Linked DNA regions of Homo sapiens: all the other regions are linked to region 3. The links are contacts of gene promoters, found by promoter capture Hi-C in human tissues and cell types (Jung and others, 2019). All regions are on one chromosome and are shown on one strand. Each heading gives the region's core, a stretch centred on a gene start or on the middle of the fragment in contact. The rest is flanking DNA. Distances are from core to core; before and after follow the strand shown.

The links. The method cuts DNA at HindIII sites, captures the fragments that hold promoters and counts their contacts. A contact is called where the count stands out against the background at its distance.
Region 1: a fragment that was not itself captured here is called in contact with the fragment with the promoter of CACNA1I in region 3 in 2 of the 25 tissues and cell types used here (dorsolateral prefrontal cortex and lymphoblastoid cells).
Region 2: a fragment that was not itself captured here is called in contact with the fragment with the promoter of CACNA1I in region 3 in 2 of the 25 tissues and cell types used here (dorsolateral prefrontal cortex and lymphoblastoid cells).
Region 4: a contact is called between a fragment that was not itself captured here and the fragment with the promoter of CACNA1I in region 3, in 1 of the 25 tissues and cell types used here (adrenal gland).

What each region holds. Positions count from the first base shown.
Region 1 is chr22:40,173,703-40,178,730 of GRCh38, forward strand. It overlaps TNRC6B (trinucleotide repeat containing adaptor 6B), which reads left to right and starts at 4,223. Exons shown (of 23, transcript NM_001162501.2): 1 at 4,223-4,438. The coding sequence starts at 4,434. RefSeq lists an enhancer at 4,062-4,111. The HindIII fragment of the contact is 5,621 bases long and covers 1-4,074 here.
Region 2 is chr22:40,259,670-40,264,430 of GRCh38, forward strand. TNRC6B (trinucleotide repeat containing adaptor 6B) reads left to right here. Exons shown (of 23, transcript NM_001162501.2): 4 at 2,163-2,504. LOC124905121 (a long non-coding RNA gene) reads right to left here. Exons shown (of 2, transcript XR_007068107.1): 2 at 1-699. Among named protein-coding and RNA genes, the nearest start is that of TNRC6B, 84 kb to the left of the region's middle. The HindIII fragment of the contact is 8,779 bases long and covers 1-4,761 here.
Region 3 is chr22:39,568,593-39,573,796 of GRCh38, forward strand. CACNA1I (calcium voltage-gated channel subunit alpha1 I) reads left to right here and starts at 2,161. Exons shown (of 37, transcript NM_021096.4): 1 at 2,161-2,396. The coding sequence starts at 2,161. The HindIII fragment of the contact is 10,754 bases long and covers 1-4,340 here.
Region 4 is chr22:40,122,711-40,127,981 of GRCh38, forward strand. It overlaps a transcript of TNRC6B not described here. Among named protein-coding and RNA genes, the nearest start is that of TNRC6B, 53 kb to the right of the region's middle. The HindIII fragment of the contact is 5,757 bases long and covers 1-4,294 here.

The DNA.
Region 1 (5,028 bases), core at 14-2,513, 600 kb after region 3:
CACCATGGCCAGCCTTGCTTTTATATTTATTCATTTTTGGGGTTTATTAACTCTTTTTCTAGATTTTTGAACATATATATATATATATATATTTTTTTTTTTTTTTTTTTTTTTTTTTTGAGACAGAATCTCATTCTGTTGTCCAGGCTGGGGTGCAGTGGCATGATCTTAGCTCACTGCAACCACCATCTCCCAGGTTCAAGTAATTGTCCTGCCTTAGCCTCCCAAGTAGCTGGGATTACCAGCAGGTACCACCATGCCCAGCTAAATTTTGTATTTTGAGTTGGGTTTTCACCATGTTGGCCAGGCTGGTCTTGAACTCCTGACCTCAGGTGATCTGCCTGGCTCAGTCTCCCAGAGTGCTGTGATTACAGGCGTGAGCCACCACGCCCAGCCTTTTTCTAGATTTTTGAGTTAAATACTCAGTTCAGTTATTTTTCAATCTTGTTTTCTTCTTTTTCTTTTTCTTTTTTTTTTTAGAGACAGAGTTTTGCTCTATTGCCCCAGCTGGAGGGTAGTGGCACGACCTTGCTCACTGCAGCTCACTGCAACCTGCAGCCTCCACCTTCTGGCTTCAAGTGATTCTTGAGCCTCAGCCTGCTGAGTAGTTGGGACTACAGGCGTGTGCCACCATGCCCAGCTAATTTTTGTTATTTTTAGTAGAAACGGGATTTTGCCATGTTGGCCAAGCTGGTCTCGAACTCCTGGCCTCAAGTGATCCACCCACCTCGGCGTCCCAAAGTGCTGGGATTACAGGTATAAGCCACCATGCCTGGCCAATCATGTTTTCTGATAAAAATATTTTGAGGAATGGTATGTAACCTCCAAAGGTGCCAGCTTTGAAAGATAACAGTCATTTGAATGTTCTTGTTTTTAGTTTTAGAAAATAATTTTTATGGCTGAGGCCGGCAGATCACGAGGTGATCACGAGGTGATTTAGTGAAACCCCGTCTCTACTACAAATACAAAAAAATTAGCCGAGCGTGGTGGCAGGCACCTATAGTCCCAGCTATTCGGGAGGCTGAGGCAGGAGAATGGCGTGAACCCGGGAGGCGGAGCTTGCAGTAAGCCGAGATAGCACCACTGCACTCTAGCCTGGGCGACAAAGCGAGACTCCATCTCAAAAAAAAAAAAAAAAATTTATTTCTTTGTGTCCTTACCTTACAATAATATAATTTTAAAATATTGTCTAATTGTTAATATGAAAAAAGTATAATAAATCTATCACAGAATCTATTATGTCTGGAAACACAAGGGAGAAATAATGTATTTATTGCACTTGTTTGTTTTAGATAAACGATTAGACTAATTGTATTAAATTTAGAGGTATTGCATAGAAAAGATGATGTGGAGGTTAAGGAAAAAATATTCAGTGGCCGGGCGCAGTGCCTCATGCCTGTAATCTCAGCACTTTGGGAGGCTGACGTGGGCAGATCACGAGGTCAGGAGTTCGAGACCAGCCTGGCCAACATGGTGAAACCCTGTCTCTATTAAAAATACAAAAATTATCTGGGCATGGTGGCATGTGTCTGTAATCCCAGCTACTCAGGAGGCTGAGACAGGAGAATCGCTTGAACCCAGGAGGTGGAGGTTCCTGTGAGCCGATACCATGCCACTGCACTCCAGCCTGGGTGACAGAGCAAGACTCTGTCTCAAAATATATATATATATGTTTTCAGCATATTATTTGAAATTAGAACCAATATTTTATTTAAAATATGTTTGTTCTGTTTCCAAACTTTTCATGCAGTTTGCTATTTAACACTTACAAGGCAACACATATAAATATTTGTATACAATAATATTCTACACTGGGGAATGGAGACTTAGCAAAGTTCAGTTTCATAAAGAAAGCATGTCCATCACAAATTAAAACAAGGTGGATGTTCAGTCTCCACACATTTTTACAAATCGAGCCAGCTACAAGCAAGTAGGCTTTCAGTAACTCATCTGGAAGGTATTGGAAGGATAAAAATAGACTAAATAATCAGAATTTCCATTCTAGTAGTTTCCTGCTTTTTCCTGCATCTCAATTGTCAGTGCAGGGCCTGGCTATTTCACTCAGTGCTAGGCAAAGACAGTGGAAGCTTGTTAAGCCACAGCTATTCAGGCTACCAGATTGTCCAGGCATTGGCCTTTGCCTGCCATGAAACAGCTCCTTTCCTGTCGTCATATCTGAGTGGAAAGAGCAAAGGCGGGAGACTGTATAAAGACCCAGAAGCCAGGATGACAACAAGTGTTGTGGGATTTTACAAGCATTCGTAGGTTCCTTTTCAAGGAAAGCCGGGTTTCTAGAATCCATCAGTTGTCTGCTGGCTGGCATGGCAGCCTAGTTTATGGGAGAAGCACACTAGGGAATCCTCCCTTTTCTGGCTTATAGAGATAGGTGGAGTCGATAGTCACAGGGCATTCTCATGCACTTTTTTTTTTTTTTTTTTTGAGATGGAGTTTCACTCTTGCTGCCCAGTCTGGAGTGCAATGGCGCGATCTCGGCTCACCACAACCTCCGCCTCCCGGGTTCAAGCGATTCTCCTGCTAAGCTCAGCCTCCCTAGTAGCTGGGATTACAGGCATGTGCCACCACGCTGGCTAATTTTGTATTTTTAGTAGAGACGGGGTTTCTCCATGCTGGTCAGGCTGGTCTCGAACTCCCGACCTCAGGTGATCTGCCTGCCTCGGCCTCCCAAAGTGCTGGGATTACAGGTATGAGCCACCGCACCCGGCCTCATGCGCTTTTTACCATTTTAGTTACTTTCTTTCCTGAAGCCGTCCTTAAAACATAGATGAATGCGAGTTTCTGGGAACTATGTGACCCTCATTCCCCTACATTTTTTATATTCAGGTGGCAGATTTCCTCCTACTCAGCCCAGCCCTTCTGAATAGGGTCCAAGTCATTGATTTATTCATTTATTTACCTCCTATGTGGTGTTTGGTGTGGAGCCTCACAGAGCAGTGAAGACGTGGTGTTTTTCCTTATACAGTTTACAGTCTCCTGGGGAAGACTAATGTTAAGCACATTCTTTCATAAATTGCAATTATGACCATTGCTCTGAAGAAGTAGTAAAGGATATTATGGGAGTGTTAACAGGAGGGCCTGGTCTGGACTGCGAGGGTCAAGAAGCCTTCCCAGGGTGGAGGCGAACTTTTGAGATGGCCAGGAAAAGATGAACAGAACTACTCAAAGAAGCCAAGTGCAGAGTTTCAGAGGTGAAAGAAACCAAAGATACCATCTAGGGAAGCCCAATCTCCGCCGGCTACCAATGAGAAAACGGAGGCCAGGCAGGGTGGGAGGATGGGTAAGGGACTTACTTACTTGCTGTTAGCAGTGAAGTTACACGGCCTGTGAGCCGCGGGGGCTGGAGATGCAAACCGAGCTTGGGTTTCTTAAGTGGGTAGGAGTGGAGATGTATATGCGAAGGAGAAGGGATTAGGAGTGGTGGAAACCAGGTAGGTTTTAATTTAGTGCCTAGGCTCCCTCAGCTGCAGAGCTACCTCCTGCGGTGGGGGAGGGGATTAAAGATGACTCAGACCTGCCCTAGCCCAGAGAAACTCCGTTTGCAGTGCTGAAGCATAGTTTTTATTTGGGTTTGGGGGAGGAGGTACTGAACACACATACAGGCAAAACAATAAGTGTAGAGTTCAGAATTGGGAAACCAGTCCCTCTTCTGCAGCTGTTCAGCTGTGTGATTTGGGATAAGTCACTTAACCTTTCTGAATTGCAGTTCAGTTTATACTTTTGTGCGTTTCTTTCAGTCTTTTTCTATACATTTTAGGAGTTTCTTAGAGATCAGTCGTGCCCTGTATTTCACCTCATTCTTTCAAAGCTAAAGCCTCTTGTTTGGTAGAGCTGTGTTTCAGCCCCTTTTACAGAGCAGTTTGCCAGCCTGTGCTTGCCCAAACATCTAGAGAATAACTAGCAAGCGAGCCAGGAGAAGATCCAGGAGCTGTAAGAATCGTTAGCAACTGAGCATATTTCTATAAACCAATAAAGGTTTTTCTGTTTTGTTCATCTGTTACCCTTATGCTGTTGCCACTTTCACATGCAGTGTCTGTAGGCGGAGAGTATGAGATAACAGCATTTCACAAATGAAAGTGAGTGGAAAAGGGCTGCTTCCCCTTTAAGGCAGTCTCAGCTCCAGCTCCCTCCCCTTTCCTGATTGACAAACCTACCCGAAGTCACATGATCTGCCTCTATTTGAAGGTCACAAAAAGCTGCTTCCTTTAGAGACAGAGAGGGAGAGAGAGAGCAAGAGGGAGAGTGTGTGAGAGAGAGTTAGTTCAAGCCAAAATGGCCGACAGAGTCTCTGCTGGTTTCTGAATATTTAAAATACAAAAAAACAGATAGACAAAAAGAATTCATTTTTTGGACCTTTTTTCATTTCCATTTCTACCTTGTATGCCTCAATTTGCTGGATTTAAGCACTGCTGCACTTTATGAGGTTGGTAAATATTTTCAATTTTTTTTAACCAATTGATTTATATGGATCTTGTCTAACCGTTTTCACTGGTGGTGTTGCAAATCGACATTTGTCTAGCATGGAGACTGGCTTCAGACATTTCGTGGATCTGTGTAAATCAGACCCGTGATGTACTTTGGTTCGGCATTTTAGAAATGGAAAAGACGTGGTAAAATATTTAGATTTTGAAGTGATTTAATTGCACTTTTAATGTATATGCAGATTTTCATCATCGTTTCTATCTTGCAATAAATGAAGCTGCGAGTAATTGGAAATTTGCTATTTAGAAAGAGGTTTTTAAAAAACACAGACCTCCCCCTCCCCCCTTAAATCTGCTGCAAAAATTTGCATAAATATAAATGGGTTTGCATTCTTTCGGCTGCTAAGGCCGACAAAGGATCTGGGAGGGCAAGCCCTAGAACGGGAAAGCCTTTTTCTATCTTTTTATTTTTTAAACTGGGCCCTCCTTCCTAGAGAGATGTAAAACCTAAAGTAAGACCTAATACATTTTAAACATCAGGTTGGGGGCGGGTGAACACCAGGAGGTTTGGGGTTTGTAGATTCCCCTGCTT
Region 2 (4,761 bases), core at 323-2,822, 690 kb after region 3:
AGGCACCTGCTCTTTTCTCCTGTCACCCACAGTATGTTAATGTCCAGTAGTGGCATAGATTGGGCCGCCTGATTTCTGATGATGTATCTCTCTCATAAAGGAGCCAGTTCAGCAAGCAACATGCTGGCCCCGCATCATTTTAGCAGTCAAAGCAGTACTACCCCCAGAGTTGGCCCTGACGTTACCCTGGGAGGCAGGGATTTGGGCCTCAGAATCATCCGAACTGTCAGGCTTGATGATTATTTCTGTACGACTTCCAGCCTCTATTTGCCAGGTAGATTTTTATGGAGAGGGTAGTGATCTTCTGGCAGCATGCAGCGAGGGAGGTACAGATCTAAGAGAGCCTTCTCTGTATGTTCGACGGGAAGAGCCAGAGGGTCCGGCAGAGTGCGGTTTCACGGTTGCCCCGACATTCCCACGCTGTGTGCGGGCCATTTTTAAAATTAAGTTTAAAAAAATCAAATGATTTAAAGTAAACAGAAAAAGTATTTACATTTTGAAATTTCTATTTTAAAGAATTGGGAAGAAACACTTTTTTTTTTTTTTAAAGAAAAGCAAAAAGATTTGTAACATTTCTAGTATTTACACAGAGAGCGGTGCAAGTCTTTGAGTCCAGGTAGCTGTAGAAACCAGAACCAAGCTGAGTTTGTGATTTTCTAGGCCTGGAGTTTCTTGTAAGAGTCCACTCTGTGCCATGCCCTAAGGAAGAAAGAAAAGATGAAAGATGGGTCCTTGCCCTCAGGAAGTCATGGCCTGGTGAGGGAGAAGGACTTGTAAATGGAGAATTTCTGTGATAGAGAGAGATGGGACTTGTAGATGGAGAATTTCGGTGGTAGAGATAGATGGATTTTTGAATGGAGAATTTTCATGGTAGAGAGAGATGGATGATGTGTTCCAGGAGCACTTAGGAAGAATGTTTAGCCCATCTAGGCCAGGGGCTTCAATAAAGTTTACTCAGGGGTAGATCTTTTAAGAATGTGGATGAAGGGAAGGGACCCTTGGACTGAGGCTTGAAACCTTTCCCAAGGACTTTGCCATGGACATTTAACTCTTCTAGGCAGCACTTCAGGGAATTAATTCCACTGTTGATTTAGGGGAGTGAATGTTGATTGCTTCCCTCTCCGCCTTAATTAATGGAATGTATTCCATGACCTTGCTGTGTTTAAATTCTTGTCACTGTCAGCCGCCACCTTCATCCTACCTTCAGCAAACTGGAGAGATTGTGGAGAATTTGGAAAAACTGTTTCCCTTGAGAGTAGAGTAAAAGGAGAAGTTACTTTGTTAGAATTGGTACCATGTAAGCTTTCTTACAAATAATCTTAGCCAGGGTCTGGGTGTGGTGGCTCACACCTGTAATCCCAGCACTTTGGGAGGCCGAGGTGGGTAAATAGCTTGAGTTCAGGAGTTCGAGACCAGTCTAGGTAGGCAACATGGCAAAACCCTGTCTCTAGAGGAGGAAAAAAAAATTAGTTGGGCATAGTGGTGTATGCATTGTAGTCCCAGCTACTCAAGAGGCTGAGGTGGGAGGATCACTTGAGCCCTGGAGGTAGAAGTTGCAGCAAGCCAAGATCACTGCACTCCAGCCCGAGTTATACAGCAAGACCTCATCTCAAAAAAATAAAAAATAGGCTGGGTGCAGTGGCTCATGCCTGTAATCTCAACACTTTGGGAGGCCAAGGCAGGCGGATCATGAGGTCAGGAGTTCAAGACCAGCCTGGTCAACATAGTGAAAACCTGTCTGTACTAAAAATACAAAAAATTAGCTGGTTTTGGTGGTGGGCGCCTGTAATCCGAGCTACTTGGGAGGCTGAGGCAGGAGAATTGCTTGAACCTGGGAGGCGGAGGTTGCAGTGAGCGGAGATTGCACCACTGCACTCCAGCCTGGGCGACACTCACACTGGGTGACAGTGTGAGACTCCGTCTCAAAAATAAATAAATAAATAAATAAATAATAATCTTGGCCAGGCACAGTGGCTCACTCTTGTAATTCTAGCACTTTGGAAAGCCAAGGTGGGAGAGTCCCTTGAGCCCGAGTTCAAGACCAGCATGGGCAACATGGCAAGACCCCATCTCTAAATAAAATAATAAAATTATTTTTAAAATTTTTAGAAAAAATGTATTTGATGTATTTCAAAGACTGTTTCCCAACCCCTCTCTTTTAGTGCCCGAAGTGACGAAACCAAGTTTAAGCCAACCAACGGCCGCCAGCCCAATTGGCAGCTCTCCATCGCCACCAGTCAATGGTGGCAACAATGCCAAAAGGGTGGCAGTGCCGAACGGACAACCGCCAAGCGCCGCCCGCTACATGCCTCGGGAGGTGCCGCCGCGATTCCGTTGCCAGCAGGACCACAAAGTGTTACTAAAACGTGGGCAGCCCCCTCCACCGTCCTGCATGCTCCTTGGGGGTGGGGCAGGGCCTCCTCCCTGCACAGCACCTGGAGCAAACCCAAACAACGCACAAGTGACAGGAGCGCTGCTGCAGAGTGAGAGTGGGACTGCGCCAGGTAAGGCACCCTGTGAATCGAATGCATGGCAGCTTGACAGAGAGAGAGCACTTTGTTTGCATTGCTTGATGTAAAGTCCAGGAAAGCCATTCATTATATAAACCACTGGGATTAGTCAAAAGATGAGAGAGGATCCTAGTATGCGATGTGTATTGGTGATTCTTGGAACTGAGGTTTAGTGTTCCGTAAGTGTGTGCTCTTGGCATAAGGGCTAACTTAACTGCTGTTGCTTATTATTTTGGGGGCCTTTTTTCCTTCTCAGACTAGAGTGTTACAAATTTGAGCCTCCATAGTTCCACCGTCATATGTGTTCAGGGCATAATTGGACATGGGGCTTGTGCGAAGGCGAATCTTTAGATGCCTGTGTTATGTTTCCAGAATGCTAGGAGGATAGAGAAAATGATTTGCTACATTGCAATATAGAATCTTCGGAGGATTCTAAAATAATACTATAGTTTTTAAATTAGATTTTTAAACTCAGTATTTCTTTTTGTGGGCCCTGGATTTTGAGCTTTGTTAAAAACTGTATGTAGAAATAAGGGATATTTAGCTGAAAGGTTCTACTAGAAGTTTTGAGAGTTTTTGGCCGGGCACGGTGGCTCACGCCTGTAATCCCAGCACTTTGGGAGGCCGAGGCGGGTGGATCACCAGGTCAGGAGATCGAGACCACCCTGGCTAACATGGTGAAACCCTGTCTCTACTAAAAATATAAAAAAATTAGCCAGGCATGGTGGCGGGCTCCTGTAGTCCCAGCTACTCGGGAGGCTGAGGCAGGAGAATGGCGTCAACCCAGGAGGCGGAGCTTGCAGTGAGCCGAGGTCGCGCCATTGCACTCCAGCCTGGGTGACAGAGCCAGACTCCGTCTTAAAAAAAAAAAAAAAAAAGTTGTGAGAGTTTTTAATAGATGAATACTAAGTCAACTAACAGCTAAGAAATTCTAAATATCTTTTAAAGTTTATTAACAGATTTCAACTTAAAATGTCTTTTGGGGTGATATTAAAATTCAGAGCTTGAATACCATTAGGCATTGGCAAAGATAATGAATTGATGGTTGTCACCAGTAGGATGCTTTATTTGAGTTCTGAGTTTAAACAAATAATTGCCTAGAAAATTTGGTCACCATCTTGCTGTGTGCAGAGTAAGGATGGAAAGAAACCTCGTGGTGACACAGACTTCCTGCAGAGATAAGCCCTACCCATGGCCTTTCCTTCCTGGCTCTCCAAACCAGCTGCAAAAGGAAGCATGTGAAGGGGCAGGCCCTGTCAGGCGGAGTTTCTGCAGCCGAGTGTAGCCAGGCCTAGGTGGAGACTGGGGTCCAGTGTGAGTCAGAGTCCACATTATTAAAACGGAGGAGGCCCCTAAATCTCGAGTTTCGGTTTCTATGCTTTTTATTTTTCTATGCCTCCGTATAATACTTTTTGAAACTTCAAATTGATTAAAAGCTGCCTGGTTAAAGAAGCCAAAATAAATTTAGAAGAAATGATCTCATTAAAAACATGTTTTTCCCACCAAATATGGTAAATTCCACCAAAATATATGGTGAGCCAGACTCATTTAACAGATTAAGTTCCTTGGGGTTGTGAACTCTGCCTAATTCATACTCATGTGACACCCCTGCCACCCTGGGCACCTAGCTCAGTGGCTCAGTGGGTATTCATCATTCAGCAGATGCTTACTCCGCAGCATTGTGCTGGCTGCTGTGTGGAATTCTAACGTTAGCAAGTTAGGGTCTCTGCCTAAAAGACGCTAACATGGGGAAGGAAAGTTGTGAACATGGTGCCACAGCACTGAGCAAAATGGCTCTAGACAGGGAAAGATTATTTTCAGGTGATGAGCTTGAAAACAGCTTCGCAGATGAAATGACACTTGAATTGGGCCCAGAAGGATGAGTAAATTTCACTGTGTGAATTCAGCAGGAAAACACAGTAGGTGCCAACGTGAAATGGTGCCAGAGTGAGAAGGCACAAGTTGTGGAATGTCAAGTAGTATCGAATATTGACATCTACATAGGAGGTAGTAGAAGATAAGACTAGAAAAGTTGGTTGGTCCCAGGTCATGGAACATCTTGATGACATTCGAGGCCAAGGAGTTCAGCTTTATTCTTGTGCACTAAGGAACTGTTGAAGGTTCTCCATACAGCAGTGATATAATCAAAAGTGTGCTTTAGAAAGATTGCTCCAGCCAGGGGTGTTTAGAGTAGGTTGAAGATACAGAGCAAGTTTAGAGTGCCATTGCTATTGCCTTGTCCCAAGATACA
Region 3 (5,204 bases), core at 911-3,410:
AGGACCTGAGGAGGTCCAATCTGGCCAGAGCAAATGGCCAGGGGAGGGAGTGGTGGGCTCCGAGGCTGGCACGGTGGTGGGCAGAGCTGGAACCACCCTAGGGAGGGTGCGTTTCAGCCCAGGAGGTTGACACGTGGCAGGCCAAGGTGCCTGGGAGCTTATGTAAGGCCCGTGGCTGTTTTTCTGGAATCAAGAGCAAAGCCCTGAGCTCAGGAGAAAACTCCGCCTCCCTGACCAGCCAGGGGAAGTGGCAGGAGGTGCCAACCCCTGCCCGTTGCCCCCGGGAGCCAGAGAAATGTCCAAATGCATCAGCTCCGGGTGGCTTGGTCGACAGCCCAGCAGCAGCTGGGTGGGCACCAGGGACGTGGACCCCATCTCTCAATCCCACGGCTCAGACTGGCCCTGTAGGGGTTCTAGGATCCCAGGGACCCCAGTGGACAAAGTTTTAGGGACTAGTACCCTTTGGGGTGAGGTGGTGAGGGGCAGGCCCTGGGAGTGGCTGTCCGTCCCATCTTGCCATTGACTGGTTGCGGAGGCTCTCGGCCAGCGAGGGCACCATCAGTTGTCATGAAGCCCGCCTGGGGGTCTGGTGCTGGGATTCTGGCCTCTCAACACCACCTAGTGCTTCACTTGGCTGGGTGCATAGCCTTGACAACCCGCTTTGTTCTCTTGGCCTCAGTTTCTTCACCTGCCAAATGGGCATAATAGTCCTCCTGAGGTTGTTGTGAGCATCAGACAAGGCCAGGGAGTAGAAGTGCTTTGAGTTGGAGTCGGAGCCAGCAAGATGATTTGCATCACCTAGAACAAAATGAAAATGTGGGACCTCTTGATAAGCAATTAAGAATTTCATGTTGGTGACAGAAGAATTCTAAAGCAAGTTCAGGGCCCTTCTGAGCACGGGGCCCTGTGCAGCTGCCTGAGCCACAGACCCAGGAAGCGGGCTCTGACCGGAATTCTTTTTTTTTTTTTTTTTTGGTGACAGAGTCTTGCTCTGTTGCCCAGGCTGGAATGCAGTGGTGTGATCTTGGCTCACTGCAACCTCCACCTCCCGGGTTCAAGTGATTCTCATGCCTCAGCTTCCCGAGTAGCTGAGATTACAGCGTGTGCCACCACACCCAGCTAATTTTTGTATTTTTAGTACAGATGAGGTCTCACTATGTTGGCCAGGTTGGCCTCAAACTCCTGACCTCAGGTGATCCACCCACCTTGGCCTCCCAAAGTGCTGGGATTACAGGTGTGAGTCACGTGCCTGGCCTTTGACTGGAATTCTATTTCTGCTGTTACTCTGCTACATGTCTGTCCTGTCCCTTCTCTGGGCCTCGGTTTCTTCATCTGTAAGGCAAGGAGGTTAGACTCTAAGATTCCTGGGTTCTCAGCCTTGTAAGGCAGTGGCTGGGAGGTCCCTGGGTCAAGGGCTCAGCTGTAGGTCTCAGCTCAGGGGTTACTTCCTCAGGGAAGCCAACTGTGATTCCCTCCTGGCTTGCCAGCGTTCCCCCAGTCTCTGATTCTGCAGCACCCCAACATTGCCTTTGTAACCTGCATTGTCCTGGCAATAATGTCTGTCTTTACAATCACCTCTTTTTTCTTGCAAGTTTTCTTTACCTTTGATGGTGCAATAAATACATAGCTCTAGTCTTGTAAAAAAGTTAAGATCCCTTCCTTCCTTCCTTCCTTCCTTCCTTCCTTCCTTCCTTTCTTCCCTCCCTCCCTCCCTCTCTCCCTCTCTCCCTCCCTTCCGTCTTTCTTTTCTGTCTATAATTACTTAAACATTTTTTCTCTTAAATAATGAAAGATTTCAAATACAGAAAATTGCCAATAGACAAAAAAAAAAGAGTTAATATCACAATTATATTCTAAGAAGGCTTTATTCTCCCCACTATCTTCGTTTGCCAAAACTGAGGCTCAGCCAGGGTGAGCAGACTTGCCCCATGATCACCCAGCTTGGAAGCAGATTCCAAGTTGGGTGCAGCTGGGCCCTCAGCTGTTTCGTAATCCTCATGCAAGAGTGAGGGTGAGGGGCCTGTGGGGCTCAGGTGGGGCTGTCAGAGCTGCATCCGTCCACTTATTGGTGGAGAGGCAGGTTGGGGAGCATGTACCAGGCCTGTCCCCACCACGTGCCACCCTCTCTGTCTTCCCCAGGGCTCCCAGCTCAGTGTGGACATGGCTGAGAGCGCCTCCCCGCCCTCCTCATCTGCAGCAGCCCCAGCCGCTGAGCCAGGAGTCACCACGGAGCAGCCCGGACCCCGGAGCCCCCCATCCTCCCCGCCAGGCCTGGAGGAGCCTCTGGATGGAGCTGATCCTCATGTCCCACACCCAGACCTGGCGCCTATTGCCTTCTTCTGCCTGCGACAGACCACCAGCCCCCGGAACTGGTGCATCAAGATGGTGTGCAACCCATATCCTCCGCAGCCTCGGCTGATCGGGGCCCTGCAGGGGCTGAAGGGTGGGGGGCTGGATTGAGTCCTGCTGCTCACACCTTGCTCCGGCTGGGAGACCTGAGGTCTGCGGTGAGGCCACTGGGCCTTGGTGGTGGTGAGCGAGCTCAGAGGGTGGGTCTGGGGAGACCTCAAATGGATGAGGACCTGGTGTTCTGCTGATGTGAAGGTTCTGGAAGTTGCTGGTGGCTGTGGGGTCAGTCCAGTGGCTGGCTGGCTCAGAAAGTCCTTGAGTGTGGGCCCCAGACCTGTGCTGGGCTGGGAATGCAGATCAGTCAGACTCTGGAGCCACCTGATGGGCCGTGACCATACAGAGGATGGGAGCCGTGATCAGGAACTGTGGGCGTGGGCAGCGGGGCAGCCGATCCCAACACACAGGGCAGGACTCATTCTCCTTACTGTGCCTCCGAGCAGCCTCTTCCCAGGCCTCCTGCCTCCACTTGCTGCCTCCAGTGGGCTCATGTTCCCCCTGCTTAAGACTGTCATGATTTGCTATGGTCCTGGAGGTGCAGAGCAAAGTCCTAATCCAACCCATCAGGGCCTGTGTGTTCCACCCAGCCTCACTTCCCACCACTTGGCTTCCCCCCTGTGCTCTTCTGAGCCTCAGGGTCCTCTCACTGGCTCTTCCCCCTGTCTGAAAAGCTTTTCCCTTCCCCCTGGACCTGGCCAAATCCTTTGCTACATCCTTAAAATCCCAGCTTAAGCATCACCTCCTCAGGGAAGCCCTCTGGGATTCCTCCTCTGCTTCATATCTAACTGTCACATCTAACTGTGGAATTCTGAATCTAACATTTGCCTCCCCTGGGGTACTGTCAGATGACTGGGATGGGGACCCTAGCACCTGGCACAGTGCTTGGCACATCGTGGGTGCTCTGGCAGTGTTTGCTGGGTGTACATGGGCAATGCCAGAGCTGACTCCTCAATAAGGAAGAGCGTTGGTTGGGTAGAGAGGGTAGTGGGAGGCAGGAGGAGGGCATGGCAGGAGCGAAGCCTGGAGAAGGGAGGAGTTGCAGGCAGTGTTGGAGCCCTGAGGGGCAGAGAGGAGTGAGGTGAGGCTGCAGGTGTGGCGGGAGCCCTGCAGGGCCTTGGAGGCTGCATGAGGGATGGGACTGTGCTCCAAGGGCAGGATTTGAAGCAGGGTCTGGAGAGATCTGTGCTCTGGAAGGACTGTGTGGCACTGGCTTGCAGGGTGAAGTGGGGGCTGGGGACCACTGAGGAGGAGGCTTGGGGACCCAAGCCATGGTGGCCTTGTGGTTTGAGGGTCCCACCAAAAAATGCCCATATGTGGCTCGAGGTTCTGGTGCTTGTGGCCACACAGGGCAGGGTGCGGGGAGCTGGTGGGTCAGGTGCAGGCCTGAGTCCTGCCCTGGAATCCAGGGATGCCAGATGCAGGCTGGGATGTTGAGACTGGCTGCAGGACTGCCAGGCTTCCCTTCTGTAGGGGGCTGAGGTGATCGTGGGCCCTGGATCCCCCTAACTTTTGGAAACCAGCGGGTCTCTGCTGGAGTGGGATGCAGAACTGGGTGTTCCTTGCTGGGTGGGGGCTAAGAGCCTCCCTGCTCCTTCTGGGGGACGGCTCACAGCGTCTCAGGCTTGGTGAGAGGGTCTGCTCGGTAATTAGTTCACCCAGCACTCACTGACATCTGCCCTGGGACACTGAGGACAAAGAGGCAGAGCTGGTGTCTGTCCCAGGGAGTGCCCGGGGAAGAGGGAAGCAGGGACCACCCATTTGGCTAGTTTTTTTTTTTAGATGGAGTCTCGCTCTGTCACCCAGGCTGGAGTGCAGTGGCGCGATCTCGGCTCACTGCAACCTCCGCCTCCCAGGTTCAAGCAATTCTCCTGCCTCAGCCTCCCGAGTAGCTGGGACTACAGGCACCCACCGCCATGCCCTACTAATTTTTGTATTTTTAGTAGAGATGGGGTTTCACCATGTTGGTCAGGCTGGTCTCGAACTCCTGACTCGTGAACCGCCTGCCTCGGCCTCCCAAAGTGCTGGGATTACAGGTGTGAGCCACTGTGCCCAGCCTACGTGGCTAGTTTTAATACAAAGCACTGGGGAAACCTCAGGGGCTTGTGGCATGTGAACAGAGGAGTGCCAGGCCTGAGAAGGGGGCGGCCGCAGGAATTTTGGGCCTTTAGGAAGAGAAAGGCTGGTAGGAGGACCAGGGGGACAATTTCACAATGTCTCAGGGGCCTTTCCTGGGTGAGATGACAAGAGTTGATTCTGGCTCTGTCACTTGGGTGCTGTGTGACCATGAGTAAGTCACTTTGCTTCTTTGAACCTTAGGGGGTCTGGATGGGCAATACTGCTCTGGGCTGGAGGCAGGGGCATGGCTCAGAGGACTTGGCCTGGGAGTCTGACCCAGCTGCGTCTCTGATGGGCTCTGGCTGGGCTGGCTGGGGTGCTGCCCACGTGTCACGGAGAGGCCCCTAGATGGGGGTGGTCAAGTCCTGTCTGCCATGTGTGTGACCCTGGGCAGTCTCCTCTCTCTGAGCCTCAGCACCTCCACCTAAAAAGGAGACGGCAGACGAATCACCCCTTCCAGCCCTGGGAGCCCAGGGTGTTAGCCACACACGCCATGGGGGCTGCCTTGATCTCAGGCACCCTGACGCCTGACCACTGAGTGAGCCAGCCCCTGGGAACCCACCCAGTTTTCCATATTTCTGGCCTGTTGGGCAAACAGAGTCCTTGGGGCCACTGTCTCCTTGGTTTTCACCACCCCTCTCACCTCCATCCTCAGGTCATGTGGGTTGTGGCCTGGGGTTGGA
Region 4 (5,271 bases), core at 166-2,665, 550 kb after region 3:
ATGGAGATCACTGGGGATCGGACCCTGAAAGAATAAGAATTCAGAGTAGAGAATGTCTTGTGAGTTGGTCATCTCCATGTACTTATTAAGTACCTATTATGTATCAAGTGCAAATACATTGTCAGTGAATCCTCAGAATAACTACTATTCCCAAGTTTTGGTAGGGAAGCTGAGACTGAGACAAATTGAGTAAATTCCCTCAAGGTCACACATCCGTAAGCATTCGGGTCTGTTGGACTCTTCAGTGACGGCCACAGCTCCCCCTCCAGGTTCCAGTCACTGCCCCTTCCGCTTCAGGTCTAGCAATAGTAAGGTTCCCAATTGTTGTCAGCCACTGGGTGGTTCAGTAGCCTTTGTTGGTTTCCCTATTTCCATTCTAACATGTTGGAAAACTGAGGGCTGTAGTAGTAGAGAAGGTAAGACTTGGGCCTTGGTAGGATCTTATTGGGACACGATGGATTTTAAGAAGTGAGTGGAGGGGCAGAAGTCTTGGTTAAAGCCTTGGGTAGAGGGTGATAGCATGGGGGAGGAGAGATGACAGTGTGCAGTGTTGGGGGATAGGGAGGAGGAGTCGGTAACGGGAAATAGCAGTGATTGTCAGAGAAGGAAAAAACTAATTTAGCCAGGCAAGTCAAGCTAGAAAGAGACTTAAGAAAAATAGAACAGCCAAATAGGAGAATCCAGAAAGGATGAAAGTAAAAAGATTAAAGCTGAAGGAGAAGCCAGCAAGTTGAGAGCAGTGCCCTTTCATAGAAGAAACAACCACTGCCATCCCTTCTTCCTCTCCCGACCTCCTGTCTCCAGTCAGTGCCTCCCACTGGCTTAGCCCAGCCAGCAGCCAGAAGATAAGGAGCCCAATGATGGTGTCCCCTGGGGCACACAGTTAGGCGGAGAATGGAGCGTGGGTCTGGAGGAAGCAGACAGTACAGCACCAGACCAAGGAGTGTGCTGAGCACAGGCCTGCAAGCATGAATGGAGTTCCAAGGAGTTTTTCTGGTTCAGCTATGCCTATAATGCATCATCTGGTTCAGCTATGCCTATAATGAAACAGAGAAATGCAGTCTCTGTTTCAGTGAAGTAGGAGAACTTAAAGACATCTGTGAAGCAAATTACACATAAAATCTTTCTGGATAAGTTATTGAGTTTTTCCAATGCTATCAACCTAATTTTTATAGAAAGAGAACTTTTTTTTTTTTTTTTTGCACAACTGTGATAAATAGGTGAGGGACAAAATCAACTAGAGAAAGCCTATTTTCACTTGCTGTGAGCATCCCTCATGTGTTTTACAGAGAGGATGGGCAATGTTGATTAAGCTGGGAGCAAGTGAATGGATATCAATTGAGAGCTTCTACTGTACTGATTTTACACTTCACATCACATAAATATGCATTTGTTCCCAACAAGACCTTGCTAGGTGGGTGAGCAAAGTAGATATTTTGGTAACCCCTTCCCACCCAGTAGATGAGGCAACAGCTTCCTGGAAGTGCCTTCTTAGCCTTGAGTCTTGGCTGGTTATAGAGAAGCCTACACCAAAACAGATCATCAAGCGTTGTGCATTAATAGATTTTTCTTGCACACACAAAAAACATACACTACCAGCATCTTTTTACCTTTTTTTTTTTTTTTTTTTGAGACAGGGTCTCACTCTGTTGCCAAGGCTGGAGTGCAGTGGTGTGATCACAGCTCACTGCAGCCTTGACCTCCTGGACTCAACCAGTCCTCCCACCTCAGCCTCTCAAGTAGCTGGGCCCACATACATGTGTCACCACGCCTGGCTAATTTTTGTATTTTGGGTAGAGGTGGGGTTTCGCCCCCAGGCTGGTCTTGAACGCGTTAGCTCAAGCCATCCACCTGCCTCAGCCTCCCAAATTGCTGGGATTATAGGCATGAGCCACTGCACCTGGCCTTTTTTAGTTTTTATGTTTTGTAGCTATGAGCTTTAGAGTAGCTGATAGGTTTGTAAATATTCATACCTGTATTATAATGGAGATTTGTGTCATTTGAATAATTATTCCTCAATAGGGCCAGGAGCGGTGGCTCACGCCTGTAATCCCAGCACTTTGGGAGTCTGAGGCGGTCGGATCACGAGGTCAGGAGTTCAAGACCAGTCTATCCAACATAGTGAAACCCTGTCTCTACTAAAAATACAAAAATCGGCCGGGTGTGGTGGCAGGCGCCTGTAGTCCCAGCTACTTGGGAGACTGAGGCAGGAGCATCGCTTGAACCCAGGAGGTGGAGGTTGCAGTGAGCCAAACTCTCACCACTGCACTGCAGCCTGGGCGACACAGCAAGACTGTGTCTCAAAAAAAAAAAAAATATTCCTCAATAATTACATATGTAATGAATTCTTGAAAATGTTGCATAAATTTTTAGTAGTTTCCTTTTGGTACATTTTAATTCATAAAATTTTAACAAACTTTTTCTTGACTCATTTTATTCTTTGAGGAAAACTTAATTACTTTTTACTGTCTTGCCCTATAAATAGTCTCATATAAAAATAAATGAACTGACATTTAGTTTATTAAGCACATTTCCTAAAAATGAAAAGTGGGGCCAGCCATTATAGTGTACTTTAATTTCAGTTATAAAGAAAGCAGGAACGTTATTCATAAATTATAAGCCCGGGAAACCCTGCCAATTCCAATAGCCTTAGCCTAATACCCAGGCACTGTGACCTGCAGGGGCGGAACAACAGGTGCGCCGCTTTGCTCACTGCCATACTTTCTTGCAGGTCAGTGTCTGCTGTAAGAATTTCACCACCACCTCTGCCAAAAGCCAAATAAAATAGGGAAAGAAATCTAGAGCTATTAATATCCCAATGCTGGAAACCTTTCCTATCTACCCTTCTCCCCCAAGATGGGAAACATTCCCTCCCTGCTTCTCTCCCTCCCTTTCTTACCTTTAAGATGCATGTGCATAGACACACACACACACACAAAGTTACTCAAAGTTACTTCACAGTATCTGTGGCCTTATTGAGAGAATTTCAGTCTAAACCTTTGAAAAAAAAATTTTTTTGCCCTGAATTCCTTACATACTTTTTTCTTCTCTCTTCTTTTAGGCAGTATTTTTGTGTTTCTGCAGAGTTTTGCACAAAATCTGTTCCCATGCAAACCAATGAGGGAGAAGTATCGGAAGAAAGCAGTTCCAAGGTCAGTAAATTACTGAAAGGTACAGTTTGGGTAGAAATTGAACAGTAGAGGCTGTGGATGAGTAGAATGGGTATTTCATTTTACATGACTGTAAAAATTCGATTGAGTTAAATTAGAACCTAACATAAGATTGAGAAATATTTTTTCTTTTCAGTATACTTTTTAATCCTATATGCTAATTTAAAACAATTTTACTGAACTACAGAGAACTTTATAATTTATTTTTAGAACACTAATACTATGTCTTTTAAAGTTTGTTACGAAAGTTACTATAGGCTTATAAAAAATCAGAAGTATATAAAGTCAGGAGTCAAAGCTGGTCCCCTGTTCCTGCTGCACAGAGGCAGTCACTGATAATTTTTAGGTGTTTTTCTATTACAAATTTTATTTTATTTTATTTTAGATTTAGAGGTACACGTGCAGGTTTGTTGCATGAGTATGTTGTGTGATGCTGAGGCTTGGGGTACAAGTGATTCCATCACTCAGGTAGTGAGCATAGTACCCAAGAGCTTGTCTTTGAACCCTTGTTCCCTTCCCTCCCTCTCCCTTTTGGAGTCCCCAGTGTCCACCGTTTCCATCTTTATGTCCACATGTACCCAGTGTTTAGCTCCCACTTATAAGTGAGAACATGCAGCATTTGGTTTTCTGTTTCTGTGTTAATTCATTTAGGATAATGGCCTTCAGCTGTATCCCTGTTGCTACAAAGGACGTTATTTAATTTTTTTTTTTTTTTTTTTTTTTTTTTTTAGACTGGGCCTGGCTCTATTGCCCAGGCTGGAGTGCAGTCATACGATCTTGACTCATTGCAGCCTCTGCCACCCAGGCTCAAACCATCCTCCCACCTCAGCCTCCTGAGTAGCTGGGACTACAGGTGCACACCACCAAACCTGGCTAATTTTTGTATTTTTTGTAGAGACGGGGTCTCACTTTGTTGTCCAGGCTGGTCTCACACTTCTGATCTCAAGCACTCCACCCACCTAGGTCTTCCAAAGTACTGGGATTACAGGCATGAGCCACCATGCCTGGATGATTTAATTCTTTTTTATGGCTACATATTATAAATTTTTAAATGGTAATTTGTTTGCTTTGTTTTTTCAATCTAGAGCCTAAGGAGTGTTATCATCATCAAATCTTGTATGTAAATATATATAATAAATAAAATAAAAATAAATATATATTAATCCTATATATAAATCCTATATATAAATATTTATCTATATTTTTGTCTATATCTGGCTCCATGTGCTGATTTTCCTTGGCTGCTTCTTAACATAGTTACATGAGACCCTTAGTATTACTTTTACTTCCCTCTCTGTCCATTCAGAATTGTCTGTAGCTCTTCCTGGGAGCTCTGAAAACAACTCTTTCCATTTCTTTCTGAATGCCCCCTCTGCGGGGCTATGATCTAGTCCGTGGCTTGGGTGGAGGGACAGATGTCATCCTGTCCTCTTAGTTTTCCTTTCCCATATCACCAGATTTCTTTCTTCTTTCCGTAGCTAAAGCAGAAGCATATAGGTTTTCATCAGACTCATTTAGACCCTGAATCTGATGTAGGGTTAGTCAGAGCCTGTGAGGTACACACACGATCTAGGAATCTCCCTCACACACACACACACAGAGGCACACATACCCAGGACACCCAAGATACACACACCCCAGAATTTCTGAGGTACATATACACCCTTCCTCAAGATCCTAATTTACTAATTGATAGTGAAATATAATGTTAAGGAAGATTGGGGCTCATGCCTGCAATCCCAGCACTTTGGGAGTCCGAGGTGGGCAGATTGCTTGAGCTCAAGACTTCGAGACCAGCCTAGGCAACATGACAAAACCCTGTCTCCAAAAAATACAAAAATTAGTTGGGCATGGTGGTGCATGCCTGCAGTCCCAGCTACTCAGGAGGCTGAGGTAGGAGGATCATTTGTACCCAGGGCTGTTGACGCTGCAGTGAGCTGTGATCATGCCACTGCACTCCAGCCTGGGCAGCAAAGCCAGACCCTGCCTCAAAAAAAAGGAAGATTGGATTTCTGGCTAGTACATTTTCTCCCTGGAAAGAGAAGGTATAATTGGGAGATTGCTTGGTGAACATGTAATTAGACTGGTATAGAATATATTA